Linked DNA regions of Homo sapiens: region 2 is linked to region 1. Evidence: promoter capture Hi-C in human tissues and cell types (Jung and others, 2019). All regions are on one chromosome and are shown on one strand. The core of a region is centred on a gene start or on the middle of the fragment in contact, and the rest is flanking DNA. Distances in the headings are between cores, read along the strand shown. Region 1 holds the start of KRT34 (keratin 34). Region 2 holds the start of KRT16 (keratin 16).

What was found. The method cuts DNA at HindIII sites, captures the fragments that hold promoters and counts their contacts. A contact is called where the count stands out against the background at its distance.
Region 2: the fragment with the promoter of KRT16 here is called in contact with the fragment with the promoter of KRT34 in region 1 in 3 of the 25 tissues and cell types used here (heart left ventricle, mesendoderm cells and thymus).

What each region holds. Positions count from the first base shown.
Region 1 is chr17:41,379,724-41,385,353 of GRCh38, reverse strand. It overlaps KRT34 (keratin 34), which reads left to right and starts at 3,048. Exons shown (of 7, transcript NM_001386014.1): 1 at 3,048-3,455; 2 at 3,559-3,641; 3 at 4,142-4,298; 4 at 5,623-5,630. The coding sequence starts at 3,108. RefSeq lists an enhancer at 2,856-4,055. The HindIII fragment of the contact is 11,267 bases long and covers 1-5,630 here.
Region 2 is chr17:41,611,517-41,617,146 of GRCh38, reverse strand. It overlaps KRT16 (keratin 16), which reads left to right and starts at 4,380. Exons shown (of 8, transcript NM_005557.4): 1 at 4,380-4,989; 2 at 5,426-5,508. The coding sequence starts at 4,459. RefSeq lists an enhancer at 2,801-3,349. The HindIII fragment of the contact is 12,932 bases long and covers 1-5,630 here.

The sequences.
Region 1 (5,630 bases), core at 1,799-4,298:
ACTCTGAGAAAGACAAAAGAATTAACAAAATGGCAATATTAGTCTTTCCCTATCAATAATTTATTGAAATGTAAATGAATTAAACTCTCCAATCAAAAGACATGGAGTAGCTGAATGGATTTTCAAAAAACCAACAAGTACTATCTACATACTATCTAGAAGAGACTGACTTTAGATTTAAAGACAATGTATAGGCTGAAAGTGAAGGAATGGGAAAAAAAATATTCCGTACAAATGGTAACCAAAAGACAGCAGGATGGCTGTACTTATATATCAGACAAAATAGTCTTTAAGTCAAAAATTGTCACAAAAGGCAAAGAAGAACATTATATAATAATGAAAAAATTCACCAGGAAGATATAACAATTGCACACATATATGAACCCAACATCAGAGCACCTAATATATATATAACAAACATTGACAGAACCAAAGGGAGAAATGGACAATGCAATAATAGAAGAATTCAGTAACTCACTTTTGATAATGAATAGAACATTCAGATAGAAAATCAACAAGGAAACAACAGATTTGAGCAATACTATAGAACAAATGGACCTAACAAATAACACGTTCTATCCAATGGTAGCAGAATGCATATTCTCCAGTGCATGCGGAACATTGTCCAGGATAGATCATATGTTGGGTCACAAAACAAGTCTTAACGAATTTAAGAGGATTGAAATCATACTAAGTATCTTTTCCTACCACAATGGAATGAAACTAGAAAACTAGAACGGAAATAAGAAAAAAACTGAAAAATACACAAATATGTAGAAATTAAAAAACATTTAAATAATCAATGGGTCAAAGAAGAAATCAAAAAGGAAATTAGAAAATATCTTGAGACAAATGAAAATGAGAACACAACGTATCAAAATTTATGGGATGCAGCAAAAGCAGTACTAAGAGGAAAGTTTTATATATGTATATACATAAACCTATATCTAAACATACACACACGCCTACCATGTACCTACAAAAATTAAAAAATTAAAAAAGATAAAGAACAAACTAAGCTCAAAGTTAGCAGCAGGAAGGATATAATAACACTTTTTGCTCTAAATTTTATTATGATACTTACGATAAAACTTAGAGCAGAAATAAATAAAAATAGAGACTAGAAAAACAATAGCAAAAAATCAATGAAACAGAGTTTTTTTGAAAGACACAGAAAATTTACAAACCTCTAGATAGACTAAGAAAAAAAGAGGAAACACTCAAATAAATAAAATCGAAGATGTGCTTTTCTGCTCCTCTCATGCTGCTTTTGAAATTCAGATGCAGCCTTCTTTAAATGATTTGTATTGTGTTCCACAAATAATCTTTTGGGACTTCTTTCTGAAACATGACTTTGTTTCCCTGCGGAACAAAGGCAAGGTAGAGTGACAGGGAAAAGAAGTGAGGTAGGGAAGGCTATTCTGTGAAGAGTGATTATTGGGCAATAGAGAGGCTCCCTAGGTTATGCAAGAGTCAAAGGGTAACTGGATCCCAGAGGTGATAGAAGCACACTTATCAGAGACAGTGTCTACTTGTAGGGACAACAGAGTAAATCTGCATTCTCATGGGCACTGTGGCTTGTCCTGGAAGCATCTCAGGCTGGCATAGTCATACCTCTAGGAGAGTTAATACTCTAGAAAGAGGAACAAGTCTAGAAATAAGATGATAGAAATTTCCAGAGAATTTGAGAAAAAGCCACCATGGATACAAAGATACCTCTGAGCACCCTTGCTCCAATTTTCGTTTCTTGGTGAGTCTGCAGTATTATGCTTCATATTCATGCTTCAGTGCTGCCATCTGAACTCTCACTGCTCCAGACTGTTTCCAGCATATTTTTTCTTCTAGATATTTCTACTCTTGCTCATCTTTAGAGAGGCTGTTGCTTTAGTACAAGTTGGCAAATTTTTTAATTTTAGGGCTTTGTGGACACTATAGTCTCTGTCACAACTACACAACTCTGCCACTGTAGCACAAAAGCAGCCATATACAATAGCTAAACAAATGGGCATGGCTGTGTTCCATTAAAACTTTATTTACTGCCGGACGCATTGGCTCACGCCTGTAATCCCAGCACTTTGGGAGGCCGAGGCGGGCGGATCACGAGTTCAGGAGTTCAAGAGCAGCCTGGCCAACATGGTGAAACCCCATTTCTGCTAAAAACACAAAAATTAGCCGGGTGTGGTGGCGGGCACCTGTAATCCCAGCTACTCGGGGGGCTGAGGCAGATAATTGCTTGAACCCGGGAGGTGGAGGTTGCAGTGAGCCGAGATCGTGCCACTGCACTCCAGCCTGGGCGACAGAGTGAGACTCTGTCTCAAAAAAAAAAAAACAGAAAACAAACAAACAAAAACTTTATTTACAAAAATTCAGCAGGGTAAACTTGACGTGTGGGCTGCCATTTGCAGATGCCCTCTTTTAGGTATACTCCCATCCATTCCATTGGTTTCCATTTTACTTTCTCATTTCTCAACCATGAACATGCCATTGTTTTCAGTTGCTCCATGTGTTGGCAAGTTCCCTAAACCCCAACGAATAGTAAGGCTCAGGATCATTTCGGCGAATACAGGTTGAGTTTCTGCTATAAAAACAAATTGAATGCTGAAACATGGATGAATGTGGGAGGAAAGAGCTACTTGGAAGAGTAACTCTCAAAGCTCTCTCTCAGAGCTCTCTCTCTGGGGAGAAAGAACAGTGGCGGAAACTCCTGGGTGAGGAATCCCTGATTCCCAAACAACTCCACCCCATGTCCCTGGCTGTCCTCCCCTCTGAGTAATGCAGACAGCCTTTTGGGGCTGTGATGATTCTATCTCCTATGAAGCCATCTGATGAAACTCTGATTTCACCAACCACTAGCACCCAGGAAGAGCCTGGTGTGACATAAGCTGAATGGAATAATTTTATGGGTTGAGGGGGGACTCTTTAGAAGCATCTAACTAGCATATTTTGGAGAAAAATTAGCTGAAGCATTAGGAAAGGAAACTATGCTGTATGCCAAGCCCCCACCCACAATTAATGGTATAAAAGGACTGCAGAGGAAGGAGAGACTCAAACCTGCCCACATCCACCTCCAGCAGCTTACCTGCTTTTCCATTACCTGTTCCAGCACCATGTCTTACAGTTGTTGCCTGCCCAGCCTGGGCTGCCGCACCAGCTGCTCCTCCCGGCCCTGCGTGCCCCCCAGCTGCCACGGCTACACCCTGCCTGGGGCCTGCAACATCCCCGCCAATGTGAGCAACTGCAACTGGTTCTGTGAGGGCTCCTTCAATGGCAGCGAGAAGGAGACTATGCAGTTCCTGAACGACCGCCTGGCCAGCTACCTGGAGAAGGTGCGTCAGCTGGAGCGGGACAACGCGGAGCTGGAGAAACTCATCCAGGAGCGGTCCCAGCAGCAGGAGCCCTTGCTGTGCCCCAGCTACCAGTCCTACTTCAAGACCATTGAGGAGCTCCAGCAGAAGGTGAGGGGGTTGGCCATATGGGGGGCCAGCAGCAGCTGGCTCTCTTTGAACAGTAAGACATTTTCAAGTTCAAGTGTACCTCATGAGAGAAATTTCTTTTCAGATTCTGTGTGCCAAGGCTGAGAATGCCAGGCTGGTGGTGAACATTGACAATGCCAAGCTGGCCTCTGACGACTTCAGAAGCAAGTATGTTGAACTTCAAGGTCCCTATGGTTCTTTCATGGCCCTAGGGACCTACTATTGCCTGGAAGAGAGGAGAAAGCCATTTCTCTCTATTTCTCCTCCTAGGGCTGGTTATGTAAAATTAGTTTCAAATAGGGAACTAGACTCATGTGCTGCCTGCTCTTTGGTCTATACTGGTTTTTTTTGGAAGTGTTTCTTAAACCACAAAATTCAGAGATTGAAATGAATTGTTCTTTGGGAATTGATTTGGTGGTATATTAGCTAACAAAACCGAGAACACAGTGAGAGACTTCATCTCATGTGTGCCTGTGGGCTCCTCGTGGTGTTAGGTGAGTCAGGGAACCTCTTCAGCCTATCCATGGACAGCTTGACTGAAGCATATGGAAGAGAAGAGGCAGAAAACTGTAAGTTCAAGAAGATTCAGGCCAATTCTACCCAAACAACACATGAGAGGGGAAGGTGGTTTTCTTTCCTGACTTATCCTCCCACTCCGACACGTGCAGGTACCAGACGGAGCAGTCCCTGAGGCTGTTGGTGGAGTCGGACATCAACAGCATACGCAGGATCCTGGATGAGCTGACCCTCTGCAAGTCTGACCTGGAGTCCCAGGTGGAGTCCCTGAGGGAGGAGCTGATCTGCTTGAAGAAGAACCATGAGGAGGTATGAAACAAATTCACAAAAGCAGGCCTCAGAACTAAGCTACTAGCACTGGGAATCAGGAGAGGATTACTGTCTGGATCCCTGGTCTGGGACCCTTCTCTGAGGAACTCAAGATGTTCTCAGAGAGTGACGGTGCTACATCCATATCAAGGAGTGGAGTGAGCTGCTCATTCTTCAGCGGCTGGGTGAGGGTTAGGCAGGTGTTGGAATTACTGAGGAGGGACATCATTCATTGAGCCCTGCTCTCTGCTGATCACTGCTAGGTCCTGAATTTGGTGGTGGAGATGGAGGGACAAAAAAGAAATAAGACATGGCCCTTTTCTTAAAAGAGCTCACAGTCTAGTATAGAAAGACAGTCATATAAACACAGTGATATAAACAAGACAGAGTGAAACAAGTACCATATGAGATGTACAAGCAGTATGCTCTAGAAATAATCCAGGCTGCCCAAGAGGAGATAGGGAACTCTTCTCAGATGCAAAGAGGAGGATTCCAGTACTTGGGTGTTTCAGTCTGAGGGAAGAGGTTGAACAAAGACACAGAAGTGGCAGGGCAGGGTGTATCTGGGTATGGCTGGGCATGCAGTACCTCCAAGGGATGAAAGTGAAGATGTGATGGGAAGCGAGGAAGGACTTGCATATGCCAAGGAGTTTAGACTTAGTCTTGTAGAAGGTGTGAGGTTGTTTCCGTTTCTATGGGACAACAATTGACGTGATCCCTGTTGGAGTTTATTGCTATAAAATGTGTGTGTCACTCTTTGGGAATGATCAGAATCTTCCTTTTAGTGCTTTTTTTTTTTTGACGGAGTCATGCTCTGTCACCAGGCTGGAGTGCAGTGGCGTGATCTAGGCTCACTGTAACATCCGACTCCCTGGTTCAAGTGATTCACTTGCCTCAGCCTCCTGAGTAGCTGGGATTACAGGCACATGCCACCACGCCCAGCTAATTTTTGTATTGTTAGTAGAGATGGGGTTTCACCATGTTGGCTAGGATGGTTTCGATCTCCTGACTTCGTGATCCACCTGCCTCTGCCTCCCAAAGTGCTGGGATTACAGGCTTGAGCCACTGTGCCCGGCCCCTTTTAGTGCTTTCTGGGCAGCATCAAGCTCATTTTCCCAGAGCAGGAAGATGGCACATCTTCCATGGGACAGCAATTGATGTGATCCCTGTTGGAGTTTATTGCTATAAAATGTGTGTGTCACTCTTTGGGAATGATCAGAATATTCCTTTTAGTGCTTTTTGGGCAGTATTGTGCTCATTTCCCTGGAGCAGGAAAATGGCAGATCCATTGCCGTAGGTTCATTGTTTCCCTTTTCTCCAACAGGAGGTTAA
Region 2 (5,630 bases), core at 3,131-5,630, 230 kb before region 1:
TGCCAGTGGTAGCCTACCTCTGGATCCCCCTTGCAGGGGCTGACCTGGTAGCATGTCCAGGGGGAGATGAGTGTCCCCCACTACATCCATCTCCCTGCAGGACATCCTGCCAGGGGAAGGAGGAGACACCGGTCCTGACCCCAAGAGATAGTGCCTGCCCCGAGGGGACCTGAGGGACTGAAAACAGTCCCTCAGCCTTTATGCAGTGTGGGTCTCTTGTGGCAACCCAGGTTTTGGGGAGATGAGGGGAACAGAGGGAACAGAGCCAGGCAGGTCTCCCCCCATGCACAGAGCTGAGGGGATAACTGAGCTGGACAGAGGCCCGTCCTCACCCTGAGCTGTAGTGACCATTTGAAGAAACATCCCTGAGAGAGGCCCACTCTTTCTCCCACAACCCCCTGGGGTCCGCAGCCTTCCCTGGAGGCACCAGCTTCCTGCTCACATTCCTGGGGTGGGGGCAATGGGAGCCCCTCTTGTGGGTTTCCTGAGACTCACACAGGAGTCCGGGCTCCTTGTTTGTGCAGAACAGGCACCCCAAGTGGGCCCAGGCTGCTGAGGACATGTGCCTGGGCTGGACTGGAGACCCAGCTATGGGACTCATGGAGGGACTCACAGTTCGTCCACACCCACCCTGCCCAATGCACAGAATGTTTCACCCCATCATCAAGGCAGAAGCTGCAGATCTGTGGTTGGATTGTGAAGGGCTATGACAGCCCCACCTTCAGAAGGGGGGCATCAAACATGCAGGAGGGGATAGGAGCCCCAGAGGTGGGCCTGGCACTCACAGATTTCCCCAGATCCCGGGAGCCGTCACAGGGGCAGAGCCTGGGCCTGGACATTTGTTCTCCCCCAGGGACCCTGCTCTCTCTGTTTCTCTGCAGGGCCCCAGTACCCCATCGTGGCCTGACATTAGTGTATTGGGATTGTCTTTACCACCTTCTCCCCCAGAAGACTGTGTCTCCAGGGCTTCTCTGTCTTGTTCTTTGAGTCTGAGTGCCCAGCACAGTGCCAGGCACATAGTAGGCACTTTATAAACACCTGCTCATAAACATAACGCTAGCCACCAGCCTTTTCCAGGTGCTTTATTTATTTGGCCTCGAATCCCCTAATATGCCTGTGAGGCAAGGCTGTTATTCCCATTTCCCAGAGAAGGAAACTGAGGCTCAGAGAGGCTGAATGTCCTGCCCAAGATTTCGCCCCTGCTTGCCCCGATTCTAGGCTGCTCTGTCCTGGCTCAGTGGGGCTCTACTTTTCCTTCCTCCTGCCCTGAAGCCTGTGGCTCTGGCTTGTCCACCCGAGGCTGGGGGCCCTGCAGCAGCCCCCTCTCTCCCCTCAGCTTCTCTGCCCCCCTCCTTAGCCCCCAAGCTGCCTCCTGCCTTCCCAGTCTGAGTTGGCTGGGGAGCTTGTAAAACAGCCCCACCAGCAGGCTTGTCCTGAGCGGTGCTGATGCGGGAGTTGGAGCAGGGCTGCAAATCTTCATGGGGACTCTGACGATCTGTCTGGTTGGAGAATCACTGCAAGTCAAGGCGTGGCATTGGCCAATGGTGTTTCCCGGCTGCCTCAGGTATGCCATGATCTCATGCCTCATGCTTGACATGGGCAGTACGAAGGAGGGAGGAAGGAGGCAGGGTGTGGGGAGGAATCCTCTGCCTGGAGGATGCCCACTGGGCTTCTCTGTGCTCACCAGGCTTAGTGGTCCTGGCTCTTGGCCACCTTGGGGCAGGTGTGCATCACTGGTGCACAGGAAACGCCTCCTCCTCCTCCTCTGTCAACTCAGATCCTCTGAGGCCCTGCTGGTGCCTCTCTCTGCTAGGACCCTTTCAGGGATCAAGGCCAGGAGGGCAGCCCCCTCCTCTACTGCTGAGGCTCAGCGGGGCAATGCCTACCCCAGCTGCCTCCTGTGGTGTGGGCATGGCAGGCAAGCCCAGCACCCCAGGGTTTCTAGCCAGGTTCTGTATTTTCCAGCATTAGTTTTCCCTCCAGGGTCAAATGATAAGTTCTTCTAAGGTCAGAGACTATGTCATCATCTCCCTCTTCACCCCCAGCCCCCGAGAGCTGTACACACAGCAGGTGCGTGATCTATGGAGTTGGCTGAGCAGTTTGGCGCGTTGGTCAGCAACTTCCTGCAGCTTCTCAGCCCATGCAGATCCCCAGGTCTGCAGTGCTGGGCTTGTGTATAATCCCGCCCTGACACCTCCTGGAATGGGGAACTTGGTGGGGGGCAGTGAGCCAATGAGAAAGGGGTGTGTGTGCATGCACACACGATGGGGGCAGAGAGTGAAGAGTTCTCAGAGACTCTACTACGAGAGTCGGTGTGAATCCTGGCTTGGGAGTTAGAGCTGGCTCGAGTCTCTGCTCTCTCACTTTTGTGCTGCTTAACCTGGATAAGGCTTTCGCTCTCTCCAGTTGGGGTATTAATAGCCTTTGGTGACCTTGAAGACCATTTTCAGTTCTGAGGGTGATGGGTCTGTGGATGGACCAGAACTCCAGGCCCAACCTGACACCTGAACACTGAGGTTTTTGTCCAAGATTCCGGGGTCCCCTTTGCCCCTTTTTGGGGTAGGGGTGAGGAGTGTCAGGTTCCCTCTCCCAGGTTTGACTCTGAAGGGATGTGCATCCGTTCTGCTCTTACCTCTGGGATGAATGACCAGGGGAGATGTAGCAGTGACAAAACCCTGGTTCTGCTGAGACAAGGAATTGCCTGCCCCAGTGGAGCTCAGGCAGAAGCAGGCTGTCTCTGGGCTCCTCACCTCAACAGAGACACTGCAGAGCAAGGCCAGTGGCCAGCACCGAGGGATGCCCCACAGCACCCTGAGGAGGCCCCGTCTTGGTGCCCAGACCCCTCCATCCTCCCTCCAGTCCTCGGTGCTGGACCAGGCTCTCAGGCCAAGGCCATGCCCACCATGGGCAGACCTCCTGCCAGTGATCGTGGGGAGGTGGGTGAGAGTTGGGTATACTGGCCCCGCCTGCAGGCATGGTGGGAGCCTGGAGAGGGCCAGAGTTCTGGGTTCTAGTTGCAGCTCTGCAGCTTAAAGCAGAGTGACTTTGAGTGAATCTCTACGCTCACAGAACTGTATGGCACACACTGGGCTCTCCATGCATGCCTGAGTGGGCCCATAACCAGTGCTCTCCCCCAGCTCAGCTGGATGAATGGAGCTGCCAGGCCTAGCCTGGGATCTGTGGACACAGGAGAGAGAACTGCTGGGAACGGATCCCCGGCTAGTCCTGTTTCTACAGGGTAGGGGGGGACTCTGAGGCCCAGGTGGGGTCAGGGGTCATACCTGGCTGTAGTGGCAGGATGGGGCTCCCTCCCACCAGCCTGCAGGTGGGGTGCCTGTGATTAGGAGAGGGCGGTAGAGGAGTGGCAGAGCTAGGTGTGGGGCTGTGGTGTTCTTCAGCTGGGAGTGTGGGGGGCGCAGGGCCCTGCTTAGGGGTGCGGGATGGTGCCAGTGTGTAGAGGTGAGTGTGAGGAGCAGGTGGCTGGAGGGGCAGGATGGGGAGGCTGAGGGGCAGGGCTGGCCCTCGGGGAAGGGCCGGTGGGGTCCTTCGCGCATGTTTCTTTGTGGCTAGTGGTGTGTCATCCCCTTTTACAGATGAGAAAACTGAGGACCAAGGGGCTATAGGACCAGCCTGTGCTGTACAGTTGGTAAGGGCAGAGCAGGGACTCAGTGCCGCCTGTCTAGCTCCATGGCCAGTGCTGTTTGTATGGTGCACACACTTCTGGAGATCCCGGGGGCTCAAGGCAGCCTCTGGAACTGGAATTAGATCCAAGAGGGGAAAGAGAGTTATAGGATTTTTAGAACAGAAGGGACTCTGCAGTCACCCAGTCCAGCCTGGTCACTGAGGGGAAACAGGCCCAGAGGTGGGAGGTGGGGAGCCTCAGGCCACACAGCAAGCAGAGTGAAGACAGGAACTCTGCCCCTGCCCAGAGTGGGACATGTGGGATCCCCACAACTGCTCCCCAAGACAGCCCAGGATGGCATCACTGAGCTCTCTTTCAGCCAAGGCTGTCACTGTGGGGCAGGGAGTTCTTCTGAAGGGCTGACTCACTGCCTGGGGACGCAGTTGCCACAAAGCCACCTGTGCCAAGGCCCGACTGGCCCCGAGGGCTCCAGGAAAGGGAGCCTGATTCCCCACCGCCTAGCCTGAGTCACCACCGAACTCGCATTTCTGTGTTTTTCTCTCGGCCCCACACCCCCAAAGCTGGGTGGGAACTCTGAGCCGGCACACAGCAGAGTTGATCCTGGGCTGAATAATCCAGAGTGAGGAGTTGGACGGGACCGGGAGTGATGAAATCCAGAGGGGAACCTGGAGTCAGCAGTTAGGAGGGCCCCGCCTTCCCCAGCTGCATATAAAGGTCTCTGGGGTTGGAGGCAGCCACAGCACGCTCTCAGCCTTCCTGAGCACCTTTCCTTCTTTCAGCCAACTGCTCACTCGCTCACCTCCCTCCTTGGCACCATGACCACCTGCAGCCGCCAGTTCACCTCCTCCAGCTCCATGAAGGGCTCCTGCGGCATCGGAGGCGGCATCGGGGGCGGCTCCAGCCGCATCTCCTCCGTCCTGGCCGGAGGGTCCTGCCGTGCCCCCAGCACCTACGGGGGCGGCCTGTCTGTCTCCTCTCGCTTCTCCTCTGGGGGAGCCTGCGGGCTGGGGGGCGGCTATGGCGGTGGCTTCAGCAGCAGCAGCAGCTTTGGTAGTGGCTTCGGGGGAGGATATGGTGGTGGCCTTGGTGCTGGCTTCGGTGGTGGCTTGGGTGCTGGCTTTGGTGGTGGTTTTGCTGGTGGTGATGGGCTTCTGGTGGGCAGTGAGAAGGTGACCATGCAGAACCTCAATGACCGCCTGGCCTCCTACCTGGACAAGGTGCGTGCTCTGGAGGAGGCCAACGCCGACCTGGAAGTGAAGATCCGTGACTGGTACCAGAGGCAGCGGCCCAGTGAGATCAAAGACTACAGTCCCTACTTCAAGACCATCGAGGACCTGAGGAACAAGGTGGGTGACTTTGGTGTATGGAGCACTGAGAGAGGCTGGGGCTACAGTGGCCCTTGGGATACCTCTTTTTAGCAATTACACTTTACAAACAGGGAGACTGGGCACCTTTGGGGAGTGGCCAGGATCACCCAGGGAAGTGGTAGCAGAGGGTCCCTTTTCAGTATCTCTGTGCCCGGACTGGGGCTGTTACCCTAAATCTCTTATTTCCTTCAAGGGTTCAGCTGCAAGTTCAGCTTCCCTGCCTTGGGCCCAGGAAGGGGGTGATCGGGATGGAGTGCATCCCTACGTAGCCTGAGCTGGTGGAGAAGGCATGCCAGCCCTGCCAGCCAGAAGACTTCCAGATTTGGGGCGGTTCCTTTTGCCCCTTTCTGCCTTTCATGCTCAAGTAGTAAGGTCCTTGGCTGACCAGGGCTCCTGTCCTCCATCCCCACTCCAGATCATTGCGGCCACCATTGAGAATGCGCAGCCCATTTTGCAGATTGACAATGCCAGGCTGGCAGCCGATGACTTCAGGACCAAGTGAGCAGCCAGCATGGTGGGCTGGGGGCAGAGGGCAAGGGACAAAGAGTGGGGCGGTCCACCCAGCAGGGCCAGCAGACCCCGAGCCTCAGAATCCTCAGGGCTGCAGCCTGAGGACCTGA